Linked DNA regions of Homo sapiens: region 1 is linked to region 2. Evidence: promoter capture Hi-C in 16 types of primary human blood cells and fetal thymus (Javierre and others, 2016). All regions are on one chromosome and are shown on one strand. The core of a region is centred on a gene start or on the middle of the fragment in contact, and the rest is flanking DNA. Distances in the headings are between cores, read along the strand shown.

Region 1 (5,597 bases), core at 411-2,910, 1.7 Mb after region 2:
CAAAAAATTTGGAAACCTAGAGATAAATCTGACAAAAGATGTATAACACCTGTATACCAAAAATTGTGAAACACTGCTGAAAGATATTAAAGCCCTAGATTTTAAAAGAAAGTCTGTTTTAAATCCACCGAAATTTTAGGCATTTACTTCCTACAGGTGGTGAACCTTTCTAGTGACTGATCGCTAAAATCTCTCTATAAAGCCTGGGTAGAAAACCAAAATTTTAATTGTTTTAGGGGCGTGTTAAACAACTAGTTCTGCCAAAGTAAGAGATCAACAATGTTACCTTGCGAAAGAGGTCACTAACGATTCCCATTGGCTGATTTTCACTTTGCTATATTTTTGTCAAAAAAATTACAAAAAATCTAATACTTACATGCCTTTGACAACAAAAGGCACATTTAATCTTATTTAGTTTTTAGAACCCCAATAAAACCAGGACAGGTACCACGACCCTCATTTTACAGGTGAGTAAATTGAGATGCAGAGATCCTGAGTGATATCCCCAACTCACCCAGCTAGTGATTTGAACCTAAGGCCTTAGACCAGCTCCTTGTGTGATCCACATCAAACATAAGACGGAAAGGAAGCCAAAGAACAGCCCAGACTTAAAAAAAGGAATTGTGAAATTCCTCTGGCTTCAAGCACATAGGAACTACTGTGTGATTTGTATTTAGTTACATGAAAGAATCTCTTACTACTACCGCTACTCTACCACTGCAAGATATATAACAGATTAAATTCATTCTGTTCTATGAATTTCAAGTTGTAATTCGAGACATCTTTTTTCTCTCTTCCCAATTTCTTCATTTTGGCAATTTTTATAGCTTGAAAAATCCGCCAAAAAGAGAAAAATGGTTAAGAATACTGAAATCTGCAAAACTTTTCTTAGGAAGTCTGAGAAAAAGCTTGATGGGAAGTGAAAATAATTACCTTTTTTTTTTTTTTTAACGAAGTATAGACATGCTGCTTATTCAACAGCACTGGTTCCCCACAGAACAGGTAATTTAAAGATGGCTTAACTTCAATAAAGCCCCAAACTAACCAACTGAACATATATAAGAATAATGGAATTTCCTAAATCAAAAATATTTACATTAACATTATCCCTAAAATCTGGGCAAAATTAAAATTCACAGCAGCATTTAAAGAATCCAAATTCCTTCATTAAATAAAAATGATTAAATATCATTACTTTAAAATAATTTATCATTTTTAAATGAGCCCTGGTCCAGGGAGTATCATACAGAAAAGAAAGCATTCATTATGAAAAATAAGATAGAATGAGAATTCTACTACAAATCAAAAGATATTCAGTTTGCCACTGCTTTTGGCTCAATAGGAGCTGAAAAGTTGACAGTTCTATGATTTTTTAATAATCAAGTAAAATTGTTTAAGTTCTAAAAAATCCCTGAGGAGCACAGTCTGTTTACCTGTAGAGAATCTGTAAATGCATCGTCCTTGTTTTCAATGGGTCGGAATAGTCCCTTTTTCTTCTCCCGGTCCCTTATATCTGGGCTGGCAGCACTAATGAGCATCTTCAGGTTAGCTGTGGGTGTCCATGGTTCCGCTTGCTGTCTGTCAACAAACTTAACTGGAGTAATGGGATTTCTTTCTGGAGTAAATTTTTTTTGCTTCGATAAATCAATTGGTTCATTTTTTATTGGAGTCTTCGGGGCCATCCTTGATCGATCAACAAATATATTTTCCTATTTTAAAAAAGAAACTTTTAGCAAGAATGAGAAAGGGCAGGTATCAGCTAAGAGTATACTTTGTTCCCACCATTCACTAAGACTTGAAAATACAAATAGGACCATATGTTTAGGGCTGAAAAGTATCAGGATAGGACTAACGAAAAGTAGTCATGGGAATAGAAGAGTGGCTCCAATGAGAAGTAGATTATACTCTGCTACTCCTTTTACACCTATCTTTCATGGTATCTCTGTAAAAGAAATCACAACGTATCTGTTACTGTTGCATGTTTATAACAGATGAGGACTATGAGGGCCAATGTGGGTTGAGTCCATATTGTTTCTAAGTGTCACCTTTTTTAAAACACTACTTACAAGTTTGCATTGACTAGTGAAGAGCAACAATGCTTCTGTAGTTCAATGTGCACCAGTGCTAATACAGCACTTAGTAGCAGGACCAGTTAATGGAAGAGCATCCAACAAAATCCCACATTTTAAGCCAACCTAGAGAGCTCTCTAACGTCATTCTCCAGAGCAGTGCATCTCAAACTACCCATGGTAAAGGACTCGTTTTTTTAGATTTCCAAACTCCTGCAAACTGATATGTGACCTTACTTCACAGGACTAATGTGCAACACAACTCCCACCAGATGTGATTTGCCATTTGAGTTTGTCACTCAAACTGACCCACAGCTTCTTCAACAAGAAGAGACCACTAATCATAAGCTTAGATATGGTGGCAATACTGAATTGCTACTGAGGTTTATTTTTCTTACTTTTTTTTTTTTTTTAAAAGATAGGGTCTCACTCTGTTGCCCAGCCTGAGTACAGTGGTGTGATCATAATTCACTATAGCCTCAAACTCCTGGGCACGTGCAATCTTCTCGCCTTAGCCTCCCAAGTAGCTGGGACCACAGACATGCACCACTACACCCAAATACTTATATTTTATTTTTTGGAGATAGGGTCTCACTCTGTAACCCAGGCTGGAGGGCAGTGGCATGATCACAGCTAACTGCAGCCTCAAACTCCTGGGTTCAAGTGATCTTCCCACCTCAGCCTCCCAAAGTGCTGGGATTTCCAGTGGTGTGCATACTACAGTGGTGTGCACACCACTGCACCCAGCTAATTTTTAAAATTTTGTGTGGAGACGGGGTCTTGCCATGTTGCCCAGGCTGGTCTTGAACTTCTGGCTTCAAGTGATTCTCCTGCCTCAGCCTCCCAAAGTGCTAGAATTACAGGCATGAGACACCAGGCCTGGCCTTTTTTAATTTTTTGTAGAGATCGGGGTCTCACTATGTTACCAAGGTTCATCTCAAACTCCTGGCTTCAAGTAATCATCCCATCTTGGCCTCTCAAAGTGCTAGGATTACAGGCATGAGCCACCACATCTAGACTACTGAGGTTTTTAAGTGCTTAACTCTCAAGTTCCGTTCTTAATTTTTTGCACCCTGGTGATAGTTTGTGGAATACCATCTGCCTCCAGACCACCCGTTGATGTAGACTGTCTTAAATAATTCTAAGAAAAGACTAACGATGGGCCCATTGTAAAAAAGGACTAAGTATATAGAATCCACCTTTGGAACTAACAAGTAATTAAAACGTATCTTTCCCCTAAAAAAGTTTCAAAAATTCAATATGAGAATTCGATAATTCAATATTCAAAAACAGAAAGATTCTGCTCTTTCTGTAGTATTCCTTTCCAGTCAATAGTGTGTCATATAATTACAAAGGTAGATGAGTTCTCAGTCACTCCTTCCCTGTACATTCTGTATAGCTACTGAATGCTTGGGTTTTGGTTGAGCAGGGGGTTACAGTAAGTGTTTTCCTATAAATGAGCAACGTGTGAAGAGGTAAAATATTGGGAGAAACTGGAGTTTGTGTAGGCAAGGCAACTCTTGCTCCTTGGATCAGCAGAAGCTGCATGCTAGCCATGGCAACATTCGGTCCTAGTATAAGAGGAAGGAGAGGAGTCAGTGGAAGTGGCGATTTCTCATACTACAGTAAGTACTCGGCCCAGAATGCTGCATCTACCCACCTCTTTTAACAAGTCCCTGTTAGTGTGCTATTCTGATAAAGGCTTCTACAGGTGAACTCTCAAGGGAAATTACTGATTACTATGTGCCACGCTCTGTTTCATGTATTTTGCATGTATTGACTCCTCATCCAATCCTGTGACATAGGCACTAATATTTTTCCGTTGTATAGATGAAGAAACTGAGGCACAGAGAAGTCAAATAACTTGGCTGAGGTCACCTATGACCTCATTCAGTGTAAAATCATCGGTATGCAAGAAACAGCTGAAGGCAGAACTTTCTGAAATTCTACACTTAAAAATGAGCCTGTGTCCTGGGCACAAACTGGGAGGAAGTTATCTTTTCCACAGCTCCAACCAAAGGTACCCAGCAGGCCACTGATCCCCACTAGTACCTAGCGAGAGGCAGCATGGGGAAATAGTTATATACACAGGATGTAGGGCCAGTTAACCTACCCCTGCTGCTTATCAGCAGGGGTGAGTGTGGCAAGTTCCTGTACCTCACTATACTTTATTTCTCTCAACCGAAAATGAAGTTCATAAAAATACCAATCTCAAGGGTTATGAGATTAGTTCCTGGCATATAGTGAGCGCTCGATAAAACTTAGCTATTATCTTTTCCCTCTTTTCTATTCTTTATTACCATTCACTCTGGCATTTCGAGCTAAATATACTACAGCACATCATATTGCTATTTAACTTCCAGGATGTGTGTCTTGTCTCAGTAACAAGACTGTGCCCTTGAAAAGGTCAAGAAGCAAGTTCCACATGTCTTGTTCATCGCAATTTTTGGCACAATGCGTTGCCCACTGCAGATACTCAAAGAACACTGTGCTTTGATGAGTTATTCCAAAAGGTATCCTCATGGTGGAGGGTGTGGTCCAGGCATGCTGGGTGGACAGAGATTTACATGCCTTCTCCATTGCTTCCAAAAGAGTTACTTTAGCGAGGGAGCAACTGAGAATGGATTATTTCTTCATATATTTTGATATATTTTCACTGTAGTTTACTGAATACTTAAAGTAGGAGGGGAGCTAGGTCATGTGGTAGGTTATGATTGTATTACACCTCTACATCAAGAAAAAAAAATGCCAACCCAATTGTTTTCTAAGGTGTCAGGTGGACAGAAAGTCAACTGCAATCTAGTCACACCTTGCTCCATCTGTCTGTCCTGCTATGCTGACAGCATATACGGCTGTGGAAAGGGCACTGCAATGGAAACCTGATTTGTGTCCCAGCTGTTTGTATCTTTTTGATCCTGGATAACTGTTCATTCTGTCTGGGCCCAGATTTCCGTAGGTATAAAATGAGGAATTTAGATGAAAGTATCTATCTCCAAGGTTTTCTAGCAAGGCTGCTTAGCTGTGGAGTGGATGCTGGGATGTACCCTGATCTCTTCAGACATGACTCATTCCCCAGCTGCTAGAAGTAATGCCAACAGTCATCCCATAACTGGACTGCTTTGGCTGAAGACAGCTGACTTGTCCAAGATCACACCACTTCCTGGGAAGCCTCTCCTGTACTCATTGGCTGGTAGAAGTAGCACAGACATATAAAAGCCAGGACTCTGGGAGGCCAAGGCAGGCGGATCACGAGGTCAGGAGATCGAGACCATCCTGGCTAACACGGTGAAACTTTGTCTCTACTGAAAATACAAAAACAAAAATTAGCTGGGCGTGGTGGCGGGCGCCTGTAGTCCCAGCTACTCTGGAGGCTGAGGCAGGAGAATAGCGTGAACCCAGGAGGCAGAGCTTGCAGTGAGCTGAGATCATGCCATTGCACTCCAGCCTGGGTGACAGCGAGATTCTGTCTCAAAAAAAAAAAAAAAAAAAAAAGCCAGGCCTCCTTGCCCCAACTCTGGACTCCTCTGA
Region 2 (5,611 bases), core at 1,483-3,982:
TAGATGTTCAAGAAAATAACATTAGGACATGCACTTGTTGATTCCTGGCAATTAGACTTTTTACACCTAAATTGTTTTAGTATTTCTGAATATAGCTGTCTAAGCCATTGGGAACATGATCTAAAAAACATAATGTATACAATTCAGACATTTTATTAAAAACGTCTCTTAGAAGAGCAATAATCTTGGATTATGTTTGACTATATATACTCTACTTTTGCCAATCTTTAAATTCATTACTCTATGAAATTTCTGTTGTTGTTACAGGCAGTTAATTTCTCTATACACTAAATGAAACTAAATTAGCTATCTGTTAACCTTTATCCCTATTAACCTTATCCCTATCAACCTTTACTGTTTTGCAGTTCCAAAAGAGTTTGCATTTGAAGCTCAACTTTAAATTTTCATTTACTTGATCATTCATTAATGCAGCCAACATTCACTGAGTACCTACTACTTGAAAATATTTTACTTTATCTTTGTATTTATTTGTTCATTCAGCCACTTATGTATTTGACAAACATCCACTGAACACCTTCTATCTTCAAATATACCCAGTGTTAGAAAAAGTGAAATATATAAGCTTACCCAGCATTTCCTTTTATGTGATTAAGTCAAAAATATTTATTGAGCCCCTCATATGTATATATACATATATATAACAATTAAAATATAGTTTCTGCTCTCAAGAAGCTTACAGTTGTATACAACATTATTAGAAAGTTAAAGAGAACTCATTTATTTATTCGACCAATTTTTATTGAGAGCCTAAAGATTCAGTTCCTGTTCAAGGTGCTAGAGATGTAGCAATGAAGAAAACAAAGCTACTGTTGTGGTGAAGGCTACAATCTGATAGAGAAGGCAGATGTTAAAAAAATAAATAACATAAATTCAGGAGGTAATTAATGCAATGAAGAAAAATAAAACAGGTTAAATGGATAGGCACTGACAGACAGGGGATATAGAATGATCAGGGAAGACTTCACTGAAGGGAACTCTATAAAGAGCACTGCAGGCAAAAGTAACAGCAAGTGCAAAGATGCTGAGGAGAGAGCATCCTTATCAAGCTGATGGATGTGGCTGATGCAGAATAAGCCAGGAGAGAATGCCAGAGAACTAGCCATGGTCAGATTATGTAGTGTCTTTTGGGCCATACCTAGGACTTCAGATTTTTTATTGTAGCCCCCCACTGTAATGTGAGCCAATTCCTTAAAAGTTCTCTTTCTCTTTGTATACAAACATATGTATATGTATATATGCCTATAGACATCTGTATCTCTCTCTGTGTAGATGTATATATGTCTATAGGCAGACACACACACATATATGTGTATACAAACAGATTTATACATAGAGAGAACTTTACATATATAAATGTATGTGTGTATATGTATGTGTGTATATGCCTATAGATATCTTTATATCCAGGAAGAGACATATATATATAGACACATGTAGATGTATATAACTGTATTGATTTATCTATCTGTATACCTACACACACACATATACACACACACACACACGTATATATGTTCATGTCTTTGGGTGTGGGATATCAGAAGCTCAGTTTGGACTATGTATGTGATATGAAAGTAGTATATACAGCAATTCTCCATTAGCTGGTAGTAGACTAGAAATATATTATCTATTGCCCAGTAGAATTTCCATTAGGATCCTTGCATTTTTCGTTTTCTTATAATCTAATTTTCTGCTTTTTATTTTTAAAAAGATAGTAGCTGCATCAAAGTAGTTTGTTTTGGTTTTTGTTTTTTGTGTCAAGGTTGACTATGGCGGATCATTCAGCAGATGTAAGTACGTGTTCACTTGAATTAAACAGCATTGTAAACAACTTCAAATTACTAAGTAAAGGTATTTATTTGAAACATAGAAATACTAAAAAAAATTAATGTCATGGGGAAAAATGCTGGTTTATTACAGAATATCAATATAACTGATGTAATGAATTTAAAACATTAAGCCAAATGACGTTGATTTATATTGCATTGCAGGTAAAATAGACAATCAAATGTACTCTGTCCATCCCAGTCTCAGTGTATCAATTAAAGCAACTCTTGGAGTCTACCAGTCACCATACAGTGGCTCTGTTCCAAACTATCAAAAAGGGAAGATTTTGTCAAGAGGAACTACTTGGCTACATTTTCCAAGCATCTATTGTTATCTATCTAAGCATTCGGTCTCTTCAGACGAAAAAACAGAAGGAAATTATTAAATGTTTGACAAGTTGATAATTTAGGATCACTGTATGTCACTGTATAAGAATTGCCTATTCTTACTCTATTCCCAATCTCTGAGGGAAGTGGCAATATGATTCTAGATTATTTAGAACAATAAAAATCTATACACGGAAGCTGCGTCTAAGAAACGAATATATAGTGCTTTGCACTCGACTGGCCCATTGTCAGCATCCCGCACTTGTTCTTTACCTAACTTGTGTGGCTTGCATATTGCAATCTGTATTACAATCCAGACGCGCTCTGCAGATTACAGATTGGATCCACAGAAAGCAGTTTGGATGGTTGAAATTCCCTCCACCAGAGGGCGACTCAGAGCTTTCCCCTGTAGCTCAGAGCTTTGTGGAAGGGGAACCCTGCTGCCTGTTCTTCCCCACAGCGACACTGACAAGTTGATCCAGCCGCGCTGGGCTCGAGCCTGTGCGGCAGGATGGAGCCAAGGGAGAGCGTGGTGCGGGGGCGTGGGGAAATCGGGTTGCCCCAGCCGTTACTGGTCCGCGCAGTCAGGGCATCCTCCGCATCCTCCACATCCTTCCATGGCTCTGAAGAATAAATTCAGTTGTTTATGGATCTTGGGTCTGTGTTTGGTAGCCACTACATCTTCCAAAATCCCATCCATCACTGACCCACACTTTATAGACAACTGCATAGAAGCCCACAACGAATGGCGTGGCAAAGTCAACCCTCCCGCGGCCGACATGAAATACATGGTGAGAAAGAACCAGGGCTGGGCTCTTAAATCCCTGACTCATCCTGAGGTATCTGGGTGATAAATTTCACGGACTTAACTTGTACTAATTCAATCCGGACTTTACATATATGCAGTTAAAAAGAAAAAAATTCACACCTTGGTTGGGCTGTCTCCTCCAGAGTCATAGGAGTGAACAAGAAAGGAAGACTTGAAGCTGTTCCTTGCCTCTTGCGGGGAAGGTGGGGATGCTGGAGCAGTGTTTGGAAGTTGCTTTGTTGCACCACTAAAGTTATAAGTACTGAACACAGGATTATTTTGTTTTCTTTCTTCCATTTTTTAGCTAGCAATTTCCACCCCCCACAACCAAGATACAAGATACCAAAGAAATAGCCCAGGAATGGAGATTCTCTTGTTCTCTTACTTATTTTTATATCATATGAATCCAAGATCAAAACAACACTTCATGTGTAGTATTATTTGAAAAAAATACAGTACTCTATTGAAGAATAAGCATAAAAAGCATTGGATTATTAAATAATCCATAGAATTTACAAAATTTTAAATACTTGACTATGAATTGTATGATTGGAAATTTCCCTTGCATTGTAACTTTTTCTTGTTTATAAATGCATCACTATGAGCATAAACGTTGATAGTATTAGTCTATTTTATGTGCTATGCAGATGTAGATACAGTATAACTCATATCTATTCCAGCTTTCTTCTTTTCTATCCAGTGGAAAACAAAAGTAATTATAAAATCACAACTCAGGCATTAAAATAAGTTCAAAACTGTACTAGTCTACTGTATAAGAAAATTATATTTTGATGGAGAAAGATTCAAATATGTATCAGAAATGAAACAAGAATAAACTAATCTCTTTAATGCAGAATTGTTAAGATATTTTAATATATAATGTTTACCAGCTTGGGGTTGTCCAAGGCATAAATTAACTAGAAATAAATCTTCAACGGAATTCAGAAATACTAATATTAGTATTAATATGGTTGATGCCTTTAGAGTTTTATTGTAAATGTATGATAAAAAAGAGTAAATGTGGGGTTAAATATAATAAATGTTCTTTATATTTCTTTTGTACTCATTGACTATTTAAAGCAAAATATGATAACAATGAATTGTGGAGTTTATAATAATGTAGAAACTAAACACATTATAACCAATGCATAAAAAATGAAGTGAAGTGTCAATAGAATTATTCTGCTGAAAGTTCCTTATATTGTTAAGAATCACAATAATATTTCTGGATGGACCGTGAGAAGTTAAGAATGCATATTTTAATATCTAGGATAACCATTAAAAATATACAAAGAAGTAGAGCTAAAAATCCAGTAAGTAGAATACTAAAGTCCTTGATTAATTTTTGGAAAACAGGAACAAGGAACAAAAGAACAAAGAGGGAATCATTTAAAAATAGCAAATGGTAGACTAAAACTTAACCATGTTAAAATTACATTAAATGCAAATGACTACTACATACTTTAATTAAAAATAAAGATTATCAGATTGGATTAATGCTTTTGTAACAGAAACATATCACAAATAGATTAAAGTAAAAAGATGGAAAAAATACATTATGCAAACTCTAAAATTAAGATAGAATAGCTATATTTATGGCTACTGAAGTAGATTTTAAGACAAGGAGAACTACCAGAAATAAAAGGGGACATTTAGGAAAATAAAAGGGCTAATTCAACAAAAGACACAGCAATCTTCAATACAAATAAATGTAATAATATATTTTAATACACAAAAATTGGCAAAAGTAAAGGGAGAAAGAGACAAAACAGTCATAGAGATTTTAATCTTAGTGAGTAAGAGAACAAGTAGGTAAAAATCAGTAAAAATAAAAAAGATTTGAACATCAAACAATTTTACCTAATTGACATTAAACAATTTATACCACACTGCAAAATACAAATTTTTATCAAGTATTCATTACATTCATCAATATAAACAATATGCTGAACCATAAAACAAGTCTCAATAAATTAACAGTATTTGAAATTTTGTCCTATATCTTCTGAAAAAAAAGTCTTAAACCAGAAATAAAGTGTGCAAAATCTCCCAAAATGTGAAATCAAGCAGCACATATCTAAATGGTCCATAAGTTAAAGAATAAATAATAATAGAGATTACTATAATTTAGATTTGAATGTTAATGGAAACACAGCATATCAAAATTTGTGGGATATAGCAAAAGAAGTGTTTGGAAGCATACGTATAGATTTAAATGAATATTTTAGGAAAGAAGAATGGTTAAAAATCAAGACCTATTCTTTCAACTCAAGAAGGTAGGAAACAAGTTTAAATTAAGCACAAGAAAATTTTTAAAAAACTAAAGATGATCATAATTTGATGAAATTGAAAGTAAAAGTATGAGGACTAAAATCAATAATATCAAAAGTTGGTTTAAAACTATATATTAATAAAATTGATAAACCAGTAGTAAAAAAAAGATTAATGAAGAAAGACACAACTCAAAAATCAATTTTAGGAATGGAAAATCACTTTTAAAAAACTCCACACATTAAATGGATAGATAGAGAATATTTTGAACAAATTTATACTAATAAATTTTACAACATAAAGAAAATAAATGGACAAATGTCTTGAAAATCAGCATTTTATAAAATTGACACAATAT

The links. The method cuts DNA at HindIII sites, captures the fragments that hold promoters and counts their contacts. A CHiCAGO score of 5 or more calls a contact.
Region 1: a contact is called between a fragment that was not itself captured here and the fragment with the promoter of GLIPR1L1 in region 2, in 2 of 17 cell types (M1 macrophages and M2 macrophages). The highest score is 5.8, in M1 macrophages.

The regions. Positions count from the first base shown.
Region 1 is chr12:77,054,422-77,060,018 of GRCh38, forward strand. It overlaps E2F7 (E2F transcription factor 7), which reads right to left. Exons shown (of 13, transcript NM_203394.3): 3 at 1,434-1,709. Among named protein-coding and RNA genes, the nearest start is that of E2F7, 8.3 kb to the right of the region's middle. The HindIII fragment of the contact is 1,509 bases long and covers 907-2,415 here.
Region 2 is chr12:75,331,938-75,337,548 of GRCh38, forward strand. It overlaps GLIPR1L1 (GLIPR1 like 1), which reads left to right and starts at 2,733. Exons shown (of 6, transcript NM_001304964.2): 1 at 2,733-2,965. The coding sequence starts at 2,792. It also overlaps a transcript of CAPS2 not described here. RefSeq lists a silencer at 2,470-2,579. The HindIII fragment of the contact is 15,549 bases long and covers 692-5,611 here.